Regions from separate parts of the Homo sapiens genome. Here regions 2, 3, 4 and 5 are each linked to region 1. Evidence: promoter capture Hi-C in 16 types of primary human blood cells and fetal thymus (Javierre and others, 2016). All regions are on one chromosome and are shown on one strand. Each heading gives the region's core, a stretch centred on a gene start or on the middle of the fragment in contact. The rest is flanking DNA. Distances are from core to core; before and after follow the strand shown. Region 1 holds the start of ACAD11 (acyl-CoA dehydrogenase family member 11). Region 2 has its middle 1.5 kb from the start of BFSP2-AS1. Region 3 overlaps BFSP2 (beaded filament structural protein 2). Region 4 overlaps BFSP2 (beaded filament structural protein 2). Region 5 overlaps TMEM108 (transmembrane protein 108).

What was found. The method cuts DNA at HindIII sites, captures the fragments that hold promoters and counts their contacts. A CHiCAGO score of 5 or more calls a contact.
Region 2: a contact is called between a fragment that was not itself captured here and the fragment with the promoter of ACAD11 in region 1, in 6 of 17 cell types (naive CD8 T cells, total CD4 T cells, naive CD4 T cells and 3 more). The highest score is 8.0, in naive CD8 T cells.
Region 3: a fragment that was not itself captured here is called in contact with the fragment with the promoter of ACAD11 in region 1 in 2 of 17 cell types (non-activated CD4 T cells and M1 macrophages); the score reaches 6.7 in non-activated CD4 T cells.
Region 4: a fragment that was not itself captured here is called in contact with the fragment with the promoter of ACAD11 in region 1 in 2 of 17 cell types (fetal thymus and total B cells); the score reaches 6.8 in fetal thymus.
Region 5: a contact is called between a fragment that was not itself captured here and the fragment with the promoter of ACAD11 in region 1, in 1 of 17 cell types (megakaryocytes). The highest score is 5.3, in megakaryocytes.

Annotation. Positions count from the first base shown.
Region 1 is chr3:132,658,390-132,661,234 of GRCh38, forward strand. It overlaps ACAD11 (acyl-CoA dehydrogenase family member 11), which reads right to left and starts at 1,420. Exons shown (of 20, transcript NM_032169.5): 1 at 1,214-1,420. The coding sequence starts at 1,362. It overlaps UBA5 (ubiquitin like modifier activating enzyme 5), which reads left to right and starts at 1,940. Exons shown (of 12, transcript NM_024818.6): 1 at 1,940-2,309. The coding sequence starts at 2,149. The region is part of intron 26 of NPHP3-ACAD11 (NPHP3-ACAD11 readthrough (NMD candidate)); the gene reads right to left. RefSeq lists enhancers at 1,722-2,260, 1,796-1,885, 2,256-2,535. The HindIII fragment of the contact is 2,892 bases long and covers 1-2,825 here.
Region 2 is chr3:133,491,232-133,494,076 of GRCh38, forward strand. It overlaps the pseudogene MAF1P1. Among named protein-coding and RNA genes, the nearest start is that of BFSP2-AS1, 1.5 kb to the left of the region's middle. The HindIII fragment of the contact is 5,013 bases long and covers 1-2,845 here.
Region 3 is chr3:133,468,627-133,471,471 of GRCh38, forward strand. All of the region lies in intron 5 of BFSP2 (beaded filament structural protein 2), which reads left to right. The region is part of intron 1 of BFSP2-AS1 (BFSP2 antisense RNA 1); the gene reads right to left. Among named protein-coding and RNA genes, the nearest start is that of BFSP2-AS1, 21 kb to the right of the region's middle. RefSeq lists a silencer at 1-4 and an enhancer at 867-1,026. The HindIII fragment of the contact is 1,424 bases long and covers 744-2,167 here.
Region 4 is chr3:133,452,115-133,454,959 of GRCh38, forward strand. All of the region lies in intron 4 of BFSP2 (beaded filament structural protein 2), which reads left to right. All of the region lies in intron 2 of BFSP2-AS1 (BFSP2 antisense RNA 1), which reads right to left. Among named protein-coding and RNA genes, the nearest start is that of BFSP2-AS1, 38 kb to the right of the region's middle. The HindIII fragment of the contact is 532 bases long and covers 1,195-1,726 here.
Region 5 is chr3:133,388,682-133,391,526 of GRCh38, forward strand. It overlaps TMEM108 (transmembrane protein 108), which reads left to right. Exons shown (of 6, transcript NM_023943.4): 5 at 1,499-1,653. Among named protein-coding and RNA genes, the nearest start is that of BFSP2, 10 kb to the right of the region's middle. The HindIII fragment of the contact is 6,155 bases long and covers 1-2,845 here.

The DNA of each region.
Region 1 (2,845 bases), core at 170-2,669:
AACACGGTTATGGTTTAACATTCAGCTTGGTTCAGAATTAAGTATCTTTCAGTTATGTACCTCTTCAACACTCCTACAATATGAACGTTACTATCTCCTTTTTGCCAAAGCAGGACTAGATGTTCAAAGGGTAACTTGTCCAAATTCCACAGCAATTGAAATAGTTGAAATTTGAACTTTGATCTGTTTCAGTTTGTTACAACACAAGGCTTCTAGCCTAGAAATCTCAGCTATTCTTTATTCCACCTTTCCCTTCATCTTCCAATATCTATTGGGACATGGGACCTTTAAATTCTACACCCTAAAATGTTCCCTGATCCATCTCATTTATTATTATTTTCATTTTCACCAAAATCAGTAGTCAAAGAATATAAATGCTAGTGATAAAATACCACTAGCACACTATGTTGTTGCAATTTTTACGCCCTTTCACCTATATTACGGTATTTCATTTCATTAATAAGACTAATCAAAATAGGTATTACAACTTAGGAAACTAGTTCTCAGAGTGTTTATGTAACATATTTAAACTCCCAGACAGCAAGTGACAGATCCAGTTTTCTGAATGATAGGACTCTTTCTGTAGCCCTGTATTAGTAACAATGTTATTTTTAGAATAAAGTTTTAAGAATGTATTATCTATTGTAAAACATCAGACTAAAGCCAGATTCCCGGTGGGGAACGCTACTCTCAGGATCCTCTCACTCAGTTCCATTACCTCACTTCAAAAAACCTGAGGCCCAAAGTGGTGCTGTGACCTCCTAAGTGGAAAAGCTAGTACTCGAATTCGGATCCTCCATCTGGTGTCATTAACTCAGCCTCCCGGAATACGGCCAATCAAACGGAATTACACCAGCTTCTCAGAAAAAGATCTAATGGCTGTATCACAAAAGAAGGCATCTATTTCTCAGAATTTGTAGCCTTAATTGCCTTGGTGAATCCTCAAGGGACATAAATCCATCCTTTAACAAAGATTCCTTTGGATAGTAGAATGGTGAACGTTATTGCGCTTCCATTACCGCCCTCCAATTGGGAAGCCCCCAGCATCGAATTCGGAGGGCCGGCAATAGCAGCTCATGCCTGTAGGGTGCGTCCACTGACTGCAGGAAAAGCAATCAGGGTGGGAGAAACTTAGGAAACCACCCAGGGCCAAAGGAAGGAAAACTCAATGTACAAATTTTTTTCCGCTGGAGGCAAAGGCTGACATCCATACCTGTACTGGGCAATGGTCAGCGTAGCCTCACGTTCGGCCCCAAAGCCAGACAAGTGCTGGTTTAGGTAGGCCTCCAGGGACTTGCTGTCGAACTTGTGCTGGGGCAGCACTTCGGCCAAATCGGACTCGCCAGTAGCACCTGGCTTCATGATCACCCCCGCAGGCCACAGCAACGCGGCATCCACAGGTCTCGAGTGCCGAAGTCCTTCAGGATTGGGGCAACGTCCCCTCTAGAGCATGGGCCGAGGCCGGGGTGGGGTCTGGCTCCAGCCAACCGCACACAGCCTACGCGCCGTTGCTGAGCAACGCTTGCCCGCTGAATCCCGAGGTTTTAGCTCTAGTCAAGTGCCAAAAGAGCCCAATGTGTGTTCGGGTTTCAATTCTCCAGTCAGCGTCAGAGTTGGAGGCCTCAATTTTAAAGAAGGCAAAGCCATGGTCATCGTTGCGGGTAAGGAACAACGCAGAAGCCTCTTCCACCCCCAAATTTAATGCAACAGCAGGCGGAAGACCTGCAGGGTCCCGTTCAGAAAAAGGGCCGTCAGACTGTCGAGCCTAAGAATAAAAAGACCCTGTTTCTCTTAGATACCCGGTTAGCAAGGCAACATCGCTGGCCTCCTGCCCTGGACACTTATCACCCCGGTGCTGCTGCGGCCGGGTTTAGCCGGCCCAGCGAGGAAGGAAGCCGAAAGAGCCAGGTTTTTGATGAGGGGGAGCGATGTCTGCGACGCACCGGAAGCGGCTCCGAGGAAGGCCTGTGGGAGTCTCGGAGACGTGTCTGTCTGTGAGGCGCTGGGTGCACGTCCCCAGGGCTCTGGGCTAGGAAGGCAGCGGCGAGGTGCCTCCCCACGTACCCCTCGCGGGCCCAGCCGAGCAACGTGGGGCGAAGGCGGCGGCGAAGGCCCGGGCTGGGAGCGTTGGCGGCCGGAGTCCCAGCCATGGCGGAGTCTGTGGAGCGCCTGCAGCAGCGGGTCCAGGAGCTGGAGCGGGAACTTGCCCAGGAGAGGAGTCTGCAGGTCCCGAGGAGCGGCGACGGAGGGGGCGGCCGGGTCCGCATCGAGAAGATGAGCTCAGAGGTGGTGGATTCGAATCCCTACAGGTAACCTGCGTCGCCGGTCGGAGGCAGGCGCGGGGGACGAGGTCAGGCTCCGTGAGGTCAGAAGTGAGGCGCTTCCCACGTCCCGCTCATGGGGACGCCCGCCACCCTTTTCTTGGTCTGCGAATCCTGTTCCCAAATGGGCAAGGCCACATCTTAGTACTGATCGGAAGATATTCTTTCTCTTTTTTAAAAACCTCCAGTGAGTCAGCCATATGGTGCTGCTCCTGTGCCTGCTGAGGACGTGTGTCCAGTTTCCTATCACCCTTGCCTCTTAATTAGTCCGCCTCGCTGTGTATAAGACTGATAGTAAGAACTTTCAGAAGATGAGATCAAATATTAAACCTGCTAAGGTAAACTTTGAGTTTCATTAAAGGCTTATCAATGCATCTTAAATGGGGTCGGGGCGGGGGAGAGCGGGGTTAGCTCTATTCTGAGATATTCGGGTGCTCCTTAACATCTCAAACCATTCGACATTACCAAGACTGCCCAGGCCTCTCTTTTCTTCTTTCCTAACAAAGCTTATCAATTCAGCAGAT
Region 2 (2,845 bases), core at 179-2,678, 830 kb after region 1:
ACACAGCTGTGGAACACAGTGGATGAGGAGATCCACCTGGCTTAATGAGACACCCACAGCTATAACCCAGACATGGACCCAGATGCCTTCAGAGAAGAAGATACCCTCTGGTCCTTCAACTACTTCTTCTACAACAAAGGGCTCAAGCAAATTGTTTTCTTCAGCCACCGCTCCATTAGCAGCTCCACCTGCACACCCTCAGAGGCAGGCAACGAGATGGACCTGGAACTGGGGGAAGAGGAGGAAGAGAAAGGAAGCAGAGGTGGAGGCAGTGAGGGTGGGGCCGAAGAGACCAGACCAAGGAGGACAGGTTCCCAGTGATTTGTATGTGATGAGGAGTAGCACAGGCCCCAGCTTCATCCAGCTTCAACCAATGCCTGGACCTGCCCACCTGAGAGGCCCTGAGGCCTCCCCAGCTGCAGGCCAGACCCTGGTGCTGTCAGAGTCTCAGCACTGCCCAAGGCCACACCTGCCTGGCCCTTTGGCTCCAGCCTGTAGGTGTCCACTCAACCCCATAGGCTTCTGCTGCCCACGCTGTGGCTGGACTAGACAGCACAGGACCTGCTGCAAAGAGTAACCACCTTGCCCAAACGAACTACCACAGGCAGGGACAGCTAGACCACAGAGTTTATTTTTGTATTTCTGCTGGGCCTGCACACTCCAGCCCAAAGGGCTTATAGCCAGAGGCCCCAGAGGTCATGAGCTCTAGTCTTGGGTCAGCTCTTGGCACCCACCTGTACCCCCACCTCACCCATTTGGCTGCATGCACTGAGTGTCACTTTGCTGCAGCTCATTGCTTTCCAATAAAAATGTTTGTGACTTAAAAAAAATTGAGACAAAAATTTAAAAATTTTATAACATGCTCATGAATGCTGGCAACCTCACCTCCACCAGCACCCCACCCCAGCTGCCACCACCGCCAGTACAAGTGCAACACCAGCAACCCCACGGCTGCCAGTGCCCCAGCCCCCATTTTCCCCCCTACCAATGCACCACCACCACCACTGGCATGAGCACATGCAGGAACACCGCCTCCCCATTTCTGCTGGAACCCCTCCCCAGCTAACACGTGTGCACCCCGCCATGCTGCTGCAGCTGCTGCCATACATCAGTAAGCACAGATCTCACTGACACCACCCTGACCAAGTGCTTTGGCTAGCATCTTCCATCACAGTGCTGTGGCCAGCAGACTGGGAACAACTCAGCCCCTCCAGCAGAATAGATTCCTAACCTTGAGGGTTCAGATAGCACAGCCAGGCGCCCAGCACCAGCCCTCCCAGAGTTAGAGCACGCAGCCCAGGAGTGCTGAGCTGAGTCTGGGCCCCCTAAAATCTTCCAGAAATGAAGCAAGTCAACCAAACCCACCATATACCACAATCAAACCAAGATCATCAAAGAAGATAAAAGCAGAAAACCTCTCCAAAGCACATCAACTTCAAAAATTGAAGGAACATCAGCCCACACAGATGAGAAAGAACTAGTGTGAGAACTCTGGCAACTCAAAAACCAGAGTGTCTTCTTACCTCCAAACCACCACACTAATTCTCTAGCAATCGTCCCTAGCCAGCCTGAAATGGCTGAAATGACAGACATAGAATTCAGAAAATGGATAGGAATGAAGATCATTGAGATTCAGGAGAAAGTTGCAACCCCATCCAAGGAATCAATAAGATGCTACAGGAGATGAAGGATGAAATGGCTATTTTAAGAAAAAAATAAACTGATCCGATAGACCTAAAAAACTCACTTCAAGAATTTAGTAATACAATCTCAAGTATTAATAGTAGAATAGACCAAACTGAGGAAACACTCTCAGAGCTTGAAGACCGTTCTCCAAAATAACTCAGTCAGACAAAAATAAAGAAAAAAAGAATTTAAAAGTATGAATAAAACCTCCGAGAAATACAGGTTATGTAAAGAGACCAGATCTACAGTTCACTGGCATCCCTGAAAGAGAAGGAGAGAAAGCAAGCTACTTGGAAAACATATTTGAGGATATTGCCGGTGAATATTTCCCCAACCTTGCTAGAGGCCAACATTCAAAGGCAGGAAATGCAGAGAACCCCTGCCAGACGCTATAAAAGATCACTATCCCCAAGACACATAGTCATCAGATTCTGTAAGGTCGAAATAAAGAAAAAGTTTTAAAGGCAGCTAGAGAGAAACAGCAGGTCACCTACAAAGGAAACACCATTAGGCTAACAGCAGGCCTTTCAGTAGAAACTATACAACCAGAAAAGATGGGGGGGGCCTATATTCAGCATTTTTTTTTTTAAAGAAATTCCGGCCAGGTGCAGTGACTCACACCTGTAATCCCAGCACTTTGGGAGGCCGAGGCAGGTGGATCACCTGAGGTCAGGAGTTTGAGACCACCTGACCGACACAGTAAAACTCCATCTCTACTAAAAATACAAAAATTAGCCAGGCATGGTGGTGGGCACCTGTAATCCCAGCTACTTGGGAGGCTGAGTCAGGAGAATCACTTGAACCCGAGATGGAGGTTGCTGTGAGCCAAGATGGCGCCATCGCACTCCAGCCTGAATGACAGAGTGAGACCCCATCTCAAAGAAAATAAATAAATAAAATAAAAAAGAAATTCCAACCAAGAATTTCATATTCAGCCAACTGAGCCTCATAAGTGAAGGAAAAACAAGATCCTTTTCAGATAAGTAAATACTAAGAAAATTTGTTACCCTTATATAATTAATATTCTATAATGGTAAAGGTTTCAATTCAACAAGAAAACCTAACTATCGTAAATACATATCCACCCAACACAGGAGCACCCAGATTCATAAAACAAGTTCTTGGAGACCTAAGAAGAAATTCAGATAACCACACAATA
Region 3 (2,845 bases), core at 206-2,705, 810 kb after region 1:
GATATAGCACCTGAGTGAGCACAGAAGCTACCAGGCCTCTTAACACCTGGGCTCGAAAGTCTCTGGACATCACTTATACCACATTCTAGTGGTCAAAGCAGTCACAAGACTATCCTAGATTCAACAGGGAGAGAAATAAATTCAACTTCTTGATGAGACAATGGCAAGGTCACATTGAGAAAGCGATTGTGGAGTGGAGATAATTGTTGTAGCTGCCAATGCAAGTGTGAGCCACTTTAGGATCGTAATAGAATTTACCTCATAACGTCATTGAGATGATTAATTTGATAATGTATGTCAAGCCCTTAGCACAGTGCCTGGCAGTTAGTGAGCAGTCAATAAATGCCATCTATTATTAATTATCATATAAAATTGCTATAATAGCTACTAGTACAGTAACTCCAAGTTGGCATCACCAGCCACCTGGTCACCTCACTTAAACCCAGGGTCCTAACCATTGGGGAAAAAAATGGAAAAATAATTTACACTCTCAACCAGAAAACTTCAGAGTAGTGCCATTCTGTCTATGCCCATAGCCCAGAACAGGCTGCCTCTGTTCCCTGCTGGTTCTAGTAGATTATCGTTCTGGTCACGGGGCCTTGCAGCCAAGGTGAGGAGCACAGATTGGGACAAAATAGGTAACAAACTCTCATACAGTTTTCAGATACAGGAAGTTCATCCAGCCATTCCTGTTATTCTGTCAGAGCGATCTGTGCACACACAAGGCCCCCGCAGCTTATATAAGCTTCAGACAGCCAAGCTGGCGAGACTTTCGGCCCCCTTTGCCAATAAGGCACTATTTGCATTGGAAGCTAGGCACAAATAATGGTGCTTGAGACCTGCTGAACTCTGTGTCCAGTCAACTCAAATCAGGAATGGAATTCAAGGCCAGAAGTCACAGAAGGTCACTATTTTACTTTCTGGAGGATTTTGCAATCCCAGAAAGTCCCTTCAAATCTCCAGAGACCTGCAGAATAAGTGTGCTTCTGTGATCTCAGCTTGTTTGCTGGTGCTGTCTGCGTGGCTGACTGAGCCAGTGTACTTGCCTGCAACAGTAGCCTGATCATAGTCACTCCAGCTCAAGCATCTCTGGGAGAACCAGGCATCCTCTCTTTCTGCCATAATGTCAGGGACTTAGGTGGGGAAGCTGGATTCGGACTTTAAGGGTGAGATGGAAGACACATATAACCTTTGGCTGGGGTTCCAATGAATGCCCTGTTGGCAGTGGGTCCTAAGTCACCATGGAAAAACCTCAGGCCACATGAAGAACTCACCTAGAAGATGGAGCAAAAACTATAGACAGATGATCCAACCGTGATTCTGTGAAGCGTGTTCCCAAATCACAGATGTTACAAATCCAATGTCAACAACAACTAGTCACAAGTTAAGTACTTTCATGCATAAACAAAGAGAGAAAACCCAGGGAGGTTGGAACAAATGATGCTCAAAGTCAAGGTGGCCATTTCTGCATCCTCACTGCTATAGAAAGGTTTCCAGATTCTATTAGTTAAATAATAACCCTAGACCAGATACTGATCTAGATTTATTTTCTAGTGATCACGTTTTGCCTCTTATAAATATGCCTCAGACAGATGAGAATCTGACTCAACATTCTCATATCCTATGGAATTAAGAAGATTTAAATAAGGTAATATGGTGATCCATGCTAACAGCAGTCATGATTCAAGATGGTGTCGTGACAGAATTTTCTGTTTCATCCATAGTGGTCATAAGGGTGTAAAAAGTCTCCTCCTGGAGGACAGGGTACAGAAACTTGTTGCATCAAAATTTAATTCAATCCAATTTAGAAAGATATTTGTTTTTTGTGTGTTATATTAAAAAGCCAGATGCTAAAGTATAGGTGAACCATAGTTAAAACTATTGGAAAATGTTGAACACAGATACAGTTTTTTAAAGGGGTTTATTGATTAGCTCTGTAGTTTTCAGGACATGGTGCATGGGAAGATGAGAAGAAAGAAGTTTCCAGTCTAATGGGGAGACATAGATAGTGCAATAAGTGTAACCATAATACAAGTGCTATCATCCAGGGCAATCTACACATACCAAGAACCTATTCTGTGCCAGGCCCTGACTTGTGTGCTGGGACTACAGAGACTTGGTTCCTTCCAAGTCTCACCATCTGGTGGAAAAGACGTGCCCATAAGCAAGCTTAGCCCACTGTGATAAGTTCAAGAGCATGCATGAGCTTGGGGAGCCATGGAAATACAGAGGGTCTCCTAACCCAGCTTGGTGATGGTAGCGGCAGAGGAGTTTCAAGGAAGGCTTCCTGGGGCAGGTTACCTCTAAGCTTGGACTTGGGGATGAGTAGGAGTGAGTGAGGTGAGGATGCTGGAAGGAATGGAGGAGCATGGTGCAGGTGGAGGAAAGAACACAGACCAAATAAACTCCAAGACTGGAAGTGTTGATGCTGCTGTAGGGTGGGGATAAAGATGGAAACATACTGGGCCAGCTGTGTGTGCCATATCAGGGGCCCTGGGGAGCCATCAATGGAGTTTAAGCAGAGGAGATACAGGCCCAGGTTTGGGCTTTGGACAGAGTACTGTGGCTATTTGTGTGTGGAACTCAGGAAGAGGAGGAACTAGAGGTGGGGAGATGAGCTAAGAGGCCACTGAGGGTACCACAGGTGAGAGGTGACAAGCTCCCAATCCCAGACCATGGTGGCTGCAGAATGTGAAAACTTCTCAAGAGATACAAGAAGCAGGACTCATAATATACAGGAGGCCATGATGGTTGCATTTGGAAGGAAGAGAAGGAAGGAAAGCAGGAACACATCTTTCCCTGGTTTCCAGCTCACATGGGTTCACCCGTTGAAGCATAGACTAGG
Region 4 (2,845 bases), core at 211-2,710, 790 kb after region 1:
TAAAGCTCTCTGGATGATTCTAATATGCAGCCAGATTTGAGAACCATAAGAATTATAAAAAGCTATGAAAAGAAAAATAGGAGAGGCTTTTCTGTCCTTTCTCCCACCATACTCCCTCTATCCCCCAAGTATCAACAAGAACCTTCCCAGCAGGGTCTTCATCAATTCTGGATTCCCAAAATGTTCTCCAGCCTAGAAAACATCCTTTCACTCACCCATTTCTCCAACCCCTACCCCGTTTCAATAGCTTCCTTTCTTTCTAACCACCAATCATTGAGCCAGGTCACTACAAACACTTTTTTATGGCAAATAGAGCCTAGTTATTCAAAAAATGACTTCCCCTCGCCCCACCCAACCTGATGAGAAGTGGAGCAACACAGAGGTAAAGTGAAGCCATAGATTTGAGTTTGGTCCATTGCCTTTTTTAACAGACTCATGACAGATAACAGATAATTAATGGTCCTAGAGACCATCTGATCCCATTCCCTAATTTTAGGTGTGAGGAAACTGAGACCCAGAGAGTGCAGGTGACTTCCCACGATCACACAGCTGGTTGAGAGCTCCATAGTTCAACTCTCCTGTTCTTGGTCCAGAGACCTTTTCTCTGCATTGGGCTGCATCGTTTCTCCCCTGGCTCTGCTTCTAAAGCTAAACCTCAGAGGCCCAGCAGTTTGCAAACTTTGCTTCTGTCCCAGCCCTCCTGCGGTGTGCACCACACTGTGGTAACTGTTTCTTTGGGAAAGGACAGACTATTATAATTATCAGAAATAAATCCTTCATAGTATGAAAAAGAAAAAAAAAAGGTCATTATTATCTCCTCCTCACCCCTTGGAGAATCATCACTAGCCCAACAGTAACTCAAACATTAATTCTGAACAGATTCATTAGTGTTTTTTTAATAGAGTAATCTGAAAGCTACATCTCAGAGAAAACAGACAGTATTTGTTTTAGCTTGGCCAATGCTGCCTGGGCCTCTTGCAGAAAGGCAGAGCTCAGAAAATATTTGCAGAATGAGTGAATTCCTCTGATCATCAACAGAGATCTGAACTGACAGCCAGAATTCCTCCAATAAATAGTTTTGTCAGTTGCAGTTGTGCCCTCAGGGGCTGACATTTGCCCATCCTGAGCATCTCTTGTCGGTTTCTTGGCGGCATAGCATAAATGTGAAATGGCTTAGCACACACAGCTTTCAAAAGCTTTTGTAAAGAAAATGCAAGCATGCATTTAATTACCTTTCGGACCACAGAGGCTGAAAATTAATTAACATGATTAATTTATATCTTAGTTTAGGTTCCTTCAGAAGCAGATCCTGAAACAAATATTGGAGTTAAGGTAGTTTACCTGGAAGTTGGGGAGTTAAAAACCAACAAAATACCAGTAGAGGAGAAGCAAAGAAGGGAACCAACAAAGAATGCCTAATCAAACCAGTTACCACTGTGGGAGACTGACGTGTAAACCAAGAAGAATTGTGAGAAACGGTATAGACTACAGGAGAGGGGAAAGGCAAGGGAGCTGAGATGTTAATACCATCTCCCAACAGTTTTCTGCCATCTGCTATCAGAGTGGCCTTCCAAAGGCTTCAGAGAAACTCTCAGGCAAAAAGATGCAGAATCTGGCAGGGGGAACAGGAGAGCACTAAACTGCGAAAGCCTAAGGGATAAAGGTGGTACCATCAGCATCTGCTAGAACTTATCTGCCAATTCTGTTTATTTTTTCAGTCATTAAAAGCTTAATAAAATAGAGACATAAAAAAATTTATTAAGAGGTTCTGGCTAAGGTCAGTGCAGTATTCATATTCTTTCCAGCTATGGTGTTACGAATGTCAGGAACCTCATGGTCCAGTTTTTGAAGCTTCTGAAGTTGTATGATTCAGTGATGACAGGATCAGATTGGTCCAGAGAATTTCTGGAGGGTCTTAAAGTCTAGTTCTTCCTTGTCTATTTGTTGTGGTTACCTAATGCAGGGTACTCAGGGATGCTTCAGGAACCTCAGACAACATGCCACACCACACTCTAGACCTCCTAGTTAGTCAAGTAAAACAAAACAACTTTTTTTTTAAGTTGGGCACTGTGGCATGTGCCTGTAGTCCTAGCTATTCAGGAGGCTGAGGCAGGAGGATTGCTTGAGGCCAAGAGTTCAAAGGAGAAGTACACTATGATCATGCCTATGGATAGCCACTCTACTCCAGCCTGGGCAACATGGTGAGACCCCATCTCTTTTTTAAAAAATCCTTTTTGTCCCCTATGCTCTTACAAAATGCTTCTGACACCAAATATGTAGGTTTGTTCCACACCAAGCAGATCTCCAAACACCAACTGAGTGTCCTATAATTCAATTCAATCCTGACACTACCTGCCTGAAGTAGTATCAGATCCCACAGGTTAAGGGCTCAGTCCCATAAGACAGCCCTCACTTCAGATGACAAGTCTGGCCCTCCCATACTTCGGATGAACTGGCTATAAATTAGGGGTTCCCACAACCTCCTCTGCAGAGGGATAAGTAGATAGTTTGCTAGAACAGTGCCCAGAACTCAAGGAAACACTTTACATATTTTTGCCAGCTTATTATAAAGGATACAATTCAGGAGCAGCCAAATGGAGGAGATGCTTAAGGCAACGTATGTGAGAAGGGGCACAGAGTCCCCAACTCCAAATTTTTGACTCTATTATAATAACACTTGGCTTAAAATGCAAACACGTCATACAGCTATACAAAAATATTCTTTCTTTTATCCTTATTCTATAAGCTTGTTTTCTATTTTTAAGAGGGGGTTTTTTTAACCTTTTAAACTTTTTTTGTTAAAAACTAAGACACATACATACACATTAGCCTAGGCCTACACAGG
Region 5 (2,845 bases), core at 108-2,607, 730 kb after region 1:
ATCTCCTAACCTTGTACAGAGACCTTTCCAGGTTGAGAGGCCAGCAAGGCTGGCAGCTGGAAAGAAAGCTACAGAATTCCCCAGGCAGCCTACAGGGCCCTGGGCTCTGGGCTGTGAGGTCTCAGCCTATACAGGTGCCAGCTTGTGCAACTGCCCCACACCCTGGCATGAACCCACCCCTGATGCTGGCCAGACCCTCAGGCTGCTGCGAACAGAGCTGGCCCTCTGCCAACCCCCGGTGCTGGCCTCTCTGGACAGCCCAGCCTGGGACCCCGACTCCCCAGCACAGAGATGGTTGGCACCACCAGGATGTCAGATGTGGCTCTTGGCTTCAGCTCTCCTCATCCCCAGAGGCTCTGGTGATGATGAACCTGGGGCAGGATATACTCAGTCCTCACTTCATGGCTTCTCCCCAAGAGGCCTCTGTCACCCTTGTCCTTGTGTTACCCTTCTGCAGTGTGAATCTGGACAGGCCACCCCACCTCTCTGACCTCAGAAGCCTTCCCTGCTCACAAGCCACTCAATTCACACATGGTTAATCAACAATATCGAGACATAATTCTTCCTCCTGGGCCCTGGGAGTCTCAGGGATGAACAGACAGGGTCACATGTCACACTGTGCTCAGTCAAGCTGTGTGGAGCCCACCTCAGGCCATCTGTGCAGGTGGGCTTTTGCATCAATCTAAGGCAGGAATCAGCTGGTAAGAGCATAGACTGGCCAGGTGCAGTGGCTCACACCTGTAATCAATCCCAGCACTTTAGGAGGCTGAGGCAGGCGGATTACCTGAGGTCAGGAGTTCGAGACCAGCCTAACCAACATGGCAAAACCCTGTCTCTACTAAAAATACAAAAATTAGCCAGACATGGTGGCAGGCACCTGTAATATCCCAGCTTCTTGGGAGGCTGAGGCAGGAGAATCGCTTGATCCCAGGAGGCAGAGGTTGCAGTGAGCCAAGATTGCGCCACTGCACTCCAGCCTGGGCAACGGAGCTAGACTCCATCAAAAAAAAAAAAAAAAAGAAAAAAAAAAACCATAGACTTTGGAGTCCAGATGTCTGGGTTTGCTTTTGGGCCTATCACTTTACCTCTCTGAGCTTCAGTTTTCCTATCTGTAAAATGGGGATCCTAACAGTACTGACTTTATGGGGCTAAATAGAGGATTAAATGAATATTTCTATGTCCTTGGAACCATGCCTGGGACGTAAGTCCTATATAACTATTAACACAGGATTTTTTGATGATGATGATGATGATGATAGTACCAGAAAAGCTATTTTATCAGCATTCAAGACTTCTGCCCCGTGATTTTGCTCTGTGAACTTCTGCTGTAAAGGTCTTCTGTGGAATTAAGGCTCACTTTGTACAGTTCACCATGCCCTGCCCCTTTTCCCACCATACACTTACTCCAGCTGGGAACTCTCCTCATCAGTTCGGTGGTGCAACCCAGGCACCATCCTTGCTGCCTCCCTCTCCTCTCTGACTTGCACTCTCTCCATAGCTGTCCTGCTGACGGTGTGCTGCATGAAGAGGAAGAAGAAGACCGCCAACCCGGAGAACAACCTGAGCTACTGGAACAACACCATCACCATGGACTACTTCAACAGGCATGCTGTGGAGCTGCCCAGGGAGATCCAGTCCCTTGAAACCTCTGAGGTAATGAGCTTGAAAGTGCTGGCCCCACTGCAGGGAAACCAGGTCCAAAGAGAGCCATGGGGCATCTGCTCATTTCTGAGTGCCTTGCTCCTTAACGTATGGCCCATGGACCAGCAGTATCAATAACACCCAAGAGGTTGTAGGCCCTACCCTGGTCCTACTGAGCCAGGATCTGTGTTTTAGCAAGAATCCCCAGGTGCTTTCTGCACAGTAAATTTTGGAAGCACTGTTCCTGGGACTTTTGGTTTCTGGGAACAAGTGAACAAATACTCAGTGAGGACCTGTTTTGTGCCGAGCACTCCCAGGGCACTATGAAGATGAGAGCTTGCTCCTAAGGGGCTCAGGTTCTGAGATGTGGCTGGAGGACAAACCCCAACATCACCCAAAAACAAAGCCAATTAGGGGAAACACAAACACAGACGAGTTATAGACAAAGAGCTGTGGAAACCCAAGGAGGAAAGCCTTCCCAGTGCAGATGCTAGGAAGGATTAATGGATTTCAACAGGCATTCCAGCAGAGGAGGTAGCCTGAGGAAAGGTGAGGATACGTGCTGGATCTGAAGGGAAAGAAGAATACACTGTCAGCATATTTGCCCAAGACACCTGGCTGGTCAGTGAGTGAGCTGAGCTTTGAACCCAGGACTTTAACCACAGAATCCATACTCTTTCCATCCTCACACGGAGGGTGGCGTAGAGGCCAGAGTGAAACAGTAAAGAAGGATAAAGGCCCAATTAGACACAGCCTTAATGGGGTATTATGGCATTGGGACTCTAGTTTGGGGCAGCAGAGAGTCACTGAAAGTTTTGATCTTTGGGTGACCCAGTTTTAGAAGGATTATGCTGATGGCCTGGTGAAAGCACCCTATATGTGATCAGCGAATGGATAAGGAAAGAAAATAATGGCTTGATGGATGAGTAAATAGATGGAATGACACAGAAAGACAGACTAAAAATAGGTAGCTCAACTAGGATGCAATTGAGATGGCCCAGGAGAAAGATAACAGACATCTGAGTAAGGCAGTGAGAGCTGAGAAGAGTTCTTGTGGAGGTGCAACCCCACCCCTCCTTCCCGTGTGGGTCCCTTCCCCAGAGCAGCCAAGGTGAGCTTTTGTAAACATAACTGTGGTCACATCGCTCACATGCTTAAAACCTTCTCATTTCTCTCCAGTTAAAGTTCAAAGTCTTGTATAGGA